2 separate regions of the Homo sapiens genome follow, and region 1 is linked to region 2. The links are contacts of gene promoters, found by promoter capture Hi-C in human tissues and cell types (Jung and others, 2019). All regions are on one chromosome and are shown on one strand. Each heading gives the region's core, a stretch centred on a gene start or on the middle of the fragment in contact. The rest is flanking DNA. Distances are from core to core; before and after follow the strand shown. Region 1 has its middle 43 kb from the start of SLC25A43. Region 2 holds the start of SLC25A43 (solute carrier family 25 member 43).

Region 1 (3,538 bases), core at 894-3,393, 44 kb after region 2:
GCTAATTTTTGTATTTTTAGTGGAGATGGGGTTTCACCGCATTGGCCAGGCTGGTCTCGAACTCTTGACCTCAGGCGATCCACCTGCCTCGGCCTCCCAAAGTGTTGAGATTACAGGCATGAGCCACCGCACCCAGCTATCTTTCCATTTTTGTCTGAAGTTTCTAAAAATATTTTATTTTAAAATCATTACAAAATTAATAAATGTCTGTTGTAGAAGCTTTAGAACACTTAGAACTGTATACATTAAAAATTATCAGCTTTCTGTGCCCCCCTCCCTGCCTCCCGGTTTCCTGTTGCCCACAAGTAACCACTGTTATCAGGTCATGGTCTCCCTCACGTCTTCAAAAATAAGATCATGCTATTCCTGTGATCTGCAACTTGCTTTTTTCTTAAAATATTTCCCAAGTAGCTTTCCATGTCAGTACACACAATGCTGCCTCAATATTTTTAAACTGCTGCAGTTTATTACCCTCTGTGGTTATGCTAGATTTTTAAAAAATGCAATGCCTTGTGATAGACATTTGTGTATGTCCAAATTTATTATAAACCATTTTATAATAAACAACCTTATTATATAGTGTCATGCACATTATGTGATTTTCTGTAGGATAAATTCCCAGCAGTGGAATTACTGATGTCAAAAGTTATTGTGTATTTAAAATTTTAATTGATATTGCCAAATCACACTCCAAAAAGTTTTTAACAATAGTTAAAAGACAGTATATGTTTTTCTAAAACCTTGTCATCACTAGGGCTATTAATCTTTTTAATATCTGCCAATCTGTAGTTTTCATTTCTATTTCTTAAATAAGTGTCAGGTTGAACATCTTTTCATATAATATGTTTGCTGGTAATTTGTAACTTGCCTTCTATGATTTCTCAATTTTCATCCTTTGTCGATTTGCCTGCCTTTTTAATCTTATTAATTTTATTTATTTATTTTTTTTTGAGACGAAGTCTCATTCTTGTCCCTCAGACTGGAGTGCGATGGTGCAATCTCGGCTCACTGCAACCTTCACCTCCCGGCTTCAAGCAATTCTCCTGCCTCAGCCTCGCGAGTAGCTGGGATTACAGGCACCTGCCCACCACGCCTGGCTAATTTTTGTATTTTTGGTAGAGATGGGGTTTCACCATGTTGGCTAGGCTGGTCTCGAACTCCTGACCTCAGGTGATCCACCCGCCTCAGCCTCCCAAAGTGCTGGGATTACAGGCGTGAGCCACTGTGCCTGGCCAATCTTATTAATTTATAACAGTCCTTTGTGTATTACCAATACTAGTCATTTGCTTTGTATATTTGTTACAAATACTTTCCCTATTTTTATGCTTCTTGGCTTTGTTTATGCTGTGTTTTGGCTGTTTATAAGTATTCAAATGTCATACAGGCAAATGATTAAATCTTTTTTATTTTTGATTGTAGATTCCAAGATTATAAAAATATTCTCCTGGCTGGGGCACAGTGGCTCACAACTGTAACCCCAACACTTTGGGAGGCTGAGGTGAGTGGCTCGCTTGAGGCCAGGAGTTCGAGATCAGCCTAGGCAACACATAACCCGGTCTCAAATAAATAAATAAATAAATAAATAAATAAATAAATTCTCCTACATTTGATTTTACTCCCTATATTGTTTTATTTTGAAATTGAAATCTTAATTCCATCTGGAATGTATTTTTGGGCAGGCAGTGAGGTAGGGATCTAGCTCTATATGTTTCTACATGGCTAGTGAGTTAAGGATATTTAGGTGCTAGTAAAGGTGCTAACTCAAGCTAGCTTGATGGGGGAAAAAAAAGGAATTTATTATAAGAATATGGAGTATTTCTCTGGAACCCAGATCTTGGATGGAGCTTAATCTCCCAAACGGCTGGAATCAGAGAAGGAAATGGTGTCAGGAATGCAAAGAGTAGCTTGTTGCCATTCCTCAGCTCTGCTGCCCTCTGAGCCTTGGCTTCATTCATCTCTGTGGCTGGGCTTTCTCGGCTACTTGGTCCTGTTGGTGGAAGCTGTGTATACCAAAGCTCAACACGTGAGCTTTTAGGTTTCCTCACTTAAAGATGCCAACCCTTCAGACTGGAAGAGACTCTGATCAGTCTAGCTTGGGTCAGGGGTTCACCTCTGATCCAACTAGCTTTGGCTAGGGAACATGGGTCACTTAATGTGTACATGGCTGTTGTGGACCCACTCCTGAAACCTTATGAATTGGAAAGGAGAAGATAGAAGATAGAAGTTCTCTGGGAAGAATCACTGTTACCTGGGCAGACACATCTACTACACTATTTGTCCCAGCACCATTTTTTTCAGCACTATTTTTGAACAATGTGTATGCCCACTAATAATCTCTTCCACTCTCCTGGATGACTTTTTCATGCTGCATTAACTATGGCAAGTGAACAGGGTTCCATTGCTAAAGGAGACTTAGAGGACTCAAATGGCATTACTCTCAAGTATATAGTTTACTACAGGAAAAGGATACAGCCAGGGGTCTGGAGTGGTCAGGTACAGGATCCTATTGTCCTCCTCTCTAAGAGCCGTGACAGCAGGATGCACTTTATCACTTGGACCAGGAACCACTGACATGTGCACAGAACACCTCAGAACCAGGGAGTCCAAAATGGACTCTCAGATGGGTTTTAAACAATTTTTTGACAGTCACACAGGCATATTTTAGCCTTAACAGTAGAGCCCTTTGAGGGAGGGACAGGTGTCACACTGAGACCAGGTACAAATAATCAGTCTCACTGTTACCAATACATAATGTCGACAAGCTCGGACAAACCACCATGAATCTGAAGACTCATGGCTACAAAACAACACCATTAACCAGTATGTTTTGTGTCTTGATAGGAGGTCAGTGTCATGCCAGAACTTCAATAAAACAACTAGGGCTAATTCTAGACCTGCTGGAATTAACCTCACAACCCATACTTTTTCCTTTCTCCTCTGTTTTTGGGTTCTGTTGTTTTAACAATTTCTTGTGATCTGAAAGATTTTTGTAAATCTTTTTTGCAGTAATTGAAGTCTGAATGTTCGATTTTATTTTTCTTACTTTGGACATTTACTTCAAATTTACTTCAAAATTTACCTCTAAAACATATGGACTACTTTGGAAAAACAAGGATTGATAACTCTTTATTCTATAGGCAGTGGCTAGCATTTGTTTTTTTGAGTTGACTTCTTAATCATTAAGAAAATTACTCGAATAATTCAGTTTACATCAAAATTCTCTTCTGCCTGCTTTTAGATTGAAAGTAAGTTCAACTTGCAGTATTCAAATACTGTGGAAACCCAGTTAATTTTCTAAATCATGCAAGGCAAAAACATCTTACCTAAAGAGCTTTCAAAAACTCACGATTAAAACATATTTTGGAATAGAATTACTTTATTTCAATTTTGCTTTATAAATGGAATGAACTGAAATGCATTAAACCCCAGAAACCTGTGTTGCCACCATTTGGTGTAATTCACATGCTGAAAATGTAATATTTTTAAAAGGCCCCAGAAAGCCCATAATAGGCTGTCTTACTCATGTTTGTACTCTCAT
Region 2 (3,195 bases), core at 27-2,526:
CTAAACTATGCGGTCAAGACCGACTCTCCCAAATGTGGGCTGTTTGTCTAATTCAGAGCCAAGGCGATATCAAAGATGCCACTGTGCCCACTGAATGAGGAACACAGGGACCGTCCCCCCAATACAGAAACATCTCTGCTTCCTGAAATGCCATCACTACCAATTCATTCTTTCAGGCTTGGTTTCCAGTTCAAATGCAGGTACCTCTGAGCTCGGTGGAAGCTTTAAGGCTGCATTTACACCTTTAGATCTTTTCCTAAGGAGCAGCTGTTGATGTGGGAGAAGGTGGAAAAGGCCCAAATAAATGAGGCCAGTGGGGTGAAGCGGTAGGCTGAGGGGGCCGTTCTCAGCTTGGGGAGGGGAAGCTGCAGCCTCTGTCGGAGCCTGAAGTCAAGCTTCATTTAAGTTGGGGAGATGTGTGGGCAAAAATCTGCGGCCTTTTCGTATCGATGGATCGGGTCCTTTCCCCACACCAAGCACTTTCTTCTCGGGGCTTGGGTCACACAGACAAAAACACCTTTAAAAGGGTCTCTCTCTTCCTAAGCCAGCCTAAGCAAAAGTTTCCAAATTGGAGGACGGTGGAAATGGTTAGGACTCATCTCTCTGGAGAGCTTTTCATTCCTTTCCTCCAAATCCTTTGCTGCATTCCACCTCCTCGCCCGGTCCAATCCGGAAAGCCTCTCGGACCAGGGCTGCGGACCACAAAACTGCATCTTGCAGGGCGGTAACCCCAAGAGAACGTGAAAAGCATTGGGGCTGCACTCTGGGGGCCATAGAGGTGGCCCACCGCCCCGAGGGGTCCCCAGGTGATCGACAAGGGGGCCGTCCCTACTCCAGGGCCCCGAGTCCAGGCAGCAGGGCGGCGTCGGGCCGCGGCTCCCCCACCCCACCCCCGTCCGGTCTCCCGGTTCCCCGGCCCCGCCCGGCTCTTACTTGCGGTAGGCGGCGAGCTGCACGGCGCTGCAGGGGAAGAGGCGCAGGCACGCCACCGCGTTCCCCTTCCACAGGGCCCGGAGCCCCTCTGCCCGCCACACCCGGTGCCCTGTGGCCCACGGTCCCCGGGCGTGGCCTCGCACGACGCCAACCTGGGCCAGCACGGTGGCGAGCTCCAGGGGCGCGGTGAGGCTGAGGCTGAGCGTCCCCGCCAGCCCAGCGCACAGCAGCCTTTGGCCGCCTGTCAGTCGGCCGTCCCGCCTCCACGTAGCCATCGAGCCCCGACCCGGGCCCGGAAGACCGCGTGGCTCGGGCCTGGGGCTCTCCGGCCACGGGCGGAGGTGGCGGGCCCCAGGCCCCGCCCGGCATGGGGCGGGCCCGCGTGAGGGACGGGAAGCCCCGTCTACGCCCTAGCCTGGCCCGAGGCTGGTCGGGGGTGGGGCGCGAGGGCCTGGAGGGTCCGGGGTCCGAGGCCGCGGATATCATGGGCATAGTCTCCCCAGTTGGCAAGGCTCGAGTAGCGACTTTCAGTTGCGAAACAGTTACTGTTCTCTCAAGGCCCAGCCTGCTAGACATCTTGCTTCCTAAATGTTCAGTGCGCCCCCGCCGCCCCTCCCTGCCTCTCCTCTGGTTTGCCCCTTTTCTCCCTTTCACGTGCCACTTCTCTGTCTTCCTCCCCTGGCGCTTCCCTCCTCCTCCTCTTGCCTCCAACCCATTTTTTTTTCCTGCCTAACCAAAAAGCCTTGATGGTTTCCCAGTGCAGAAGGTAAAAAATTCTAACAACCACAGTTGCTATCTCTCAGGCACTTGTCAAGTACTGGGCTTTACAGACGTTCTCATGTAATCCTCAAAACGGCCCTAAGTACGTATGTCCTCATTGACAGAGGCTGTGTGGGTGTGGGGACTTGAATCTGGACTCTTGAACCTGTGTAAGATTCTTGGCTCTGCAGCTTACCAGCTGTGGGACCTTGGGGAAGTCACTCAACCTCTCTGTGTGTCAGTTGCTTTATAAAACAGAGATTATAATTTTTTCCTCCTAGGGGTTGTTGTAAGGATTAATGAACAATGACTGGTATGGGTAAGCAGTTTATATGTGTTAGTTCTGATTAGGTATTCATTTACAGGAGAGGAAACCAAGACACAGAGAGGACTTGCTCAGGCTCACACAGCTACCTACAAAGCAGAGACCGGTTTGAAATCTAGGGCGGTTTATGTCAGTTTCCACTAACGGCTACACTATATGTCTACTAGGACTGCAGAGTTAACTCCAGTAGGGACATTTTCAGTGGTTCTGTAAGCTAAGAGAACAATAGAGGCAAAGAATGGCTAAGAGAGGCTTGGCCAGAATCCGAGGATTCTTTAATCAGTTCAAAAATTTCAGAATTTCAGAATTTCTTTCTGTCTCTTTTTTTTCTAAAAAAGCCATGTCACTAATAATTACAAGGAAAGGAACTGTCAGCAGTCTGTTGGTGTGAGCAAGATGTTCCGGGTACATAGTTGTTTTTAGGCTTGTATAGTTATTTACATTTACTAACACACAATGCTATAGGAACGTTTTCTAAAAGGCATTGCAGGGTTTCTCCTTTTTTATTTTTCACTGTCAATCTCACTTGAGTATGACATTACAAGGTTTTGACTGTGAGAACTTGTTCTAGTTGCAGAAGCCATACTCTGCTCTCAACAATTGGGGAATGCTTATTTTCATGTTTTGTGAATTCTTCTGTCTTGTTGTAAGCTAATTTGATGGCTGGGGGAAGCTTGAGAAAGATGTATGACTCTGAAGACCGGAGGACCCCGACTTTAAAAGGGCTTGAATTGGAATTTGGGGATTACAATAAGGAAACCTTCGGGTACTGGTACTTCCTAAAGCCCTTTGTTGGATAACGGGACAAGATTCTAAAGCTCTTTCAGGAAGTTCGTGGGTCTGGAACATTTCATGTGATAACCCCATTGTATGGAGATTGGGTCAGCCAAGTTATGTTTTTTTTTTTTTTGAGACAGAGTCTCGCTCTGTCGCCCAGGGTGAAGTGCAGTGGCATGGTCTTGGCTCACTGTAACCTCTGCCTCCTAGGTTCAAGCGATTCTCCTGCCTCAGCCTCCTAAGTAGCTGGGACTACAGGCATGTGCCACCATACCCAACTAATTTTTTTGTATTTTCAGTAGAGATGGGGTTCGCCATGTTGGCCAGGCTGGTCTCGAATTCCTGACCTCAGATGATCCACCTGCCTCGGCCTCCCAAAGTGCCGAAATTACAGGCATGAG

The links. Contacts are between HindIII fragments. The study calls those that stand out against the background at their distance.
Region 1: a contact is called between a fragment that was not itself captured here and the fragment with the promoter of SLC25A43 in region 2, in 1 of the 25 tissues and cell types used here (pancreas).

Annotation. Positions count from the first base shown.
Region 1 is chrX:119,354,326-119,357,863 of GRCh38, reverse strand. No RefSeq gene overlaps it. Among named protein-coding and RNA genes, the nearest start is that of SLC25A43, 43 kb to the left of the region's middle. The HindIII fragment of the contact is 4,365 bases long and covers 1-3,538 here.
Region 2 is chrX:119,397,417-119,400,611 of GRCh38, reverse strand. It overlaps SLC25A43 (solute carrier family 25 member 43), which reads right to left and starts at 1,276. Exons shown (of 5, transcript NM_145305.3): 1 at 934-1,276. The coding sequence starts at 1,208. RefSeq lists a silencer at 753-1,412. The HindIII fragment of the contact is 7,658 bases long and covers 1-3,195 here.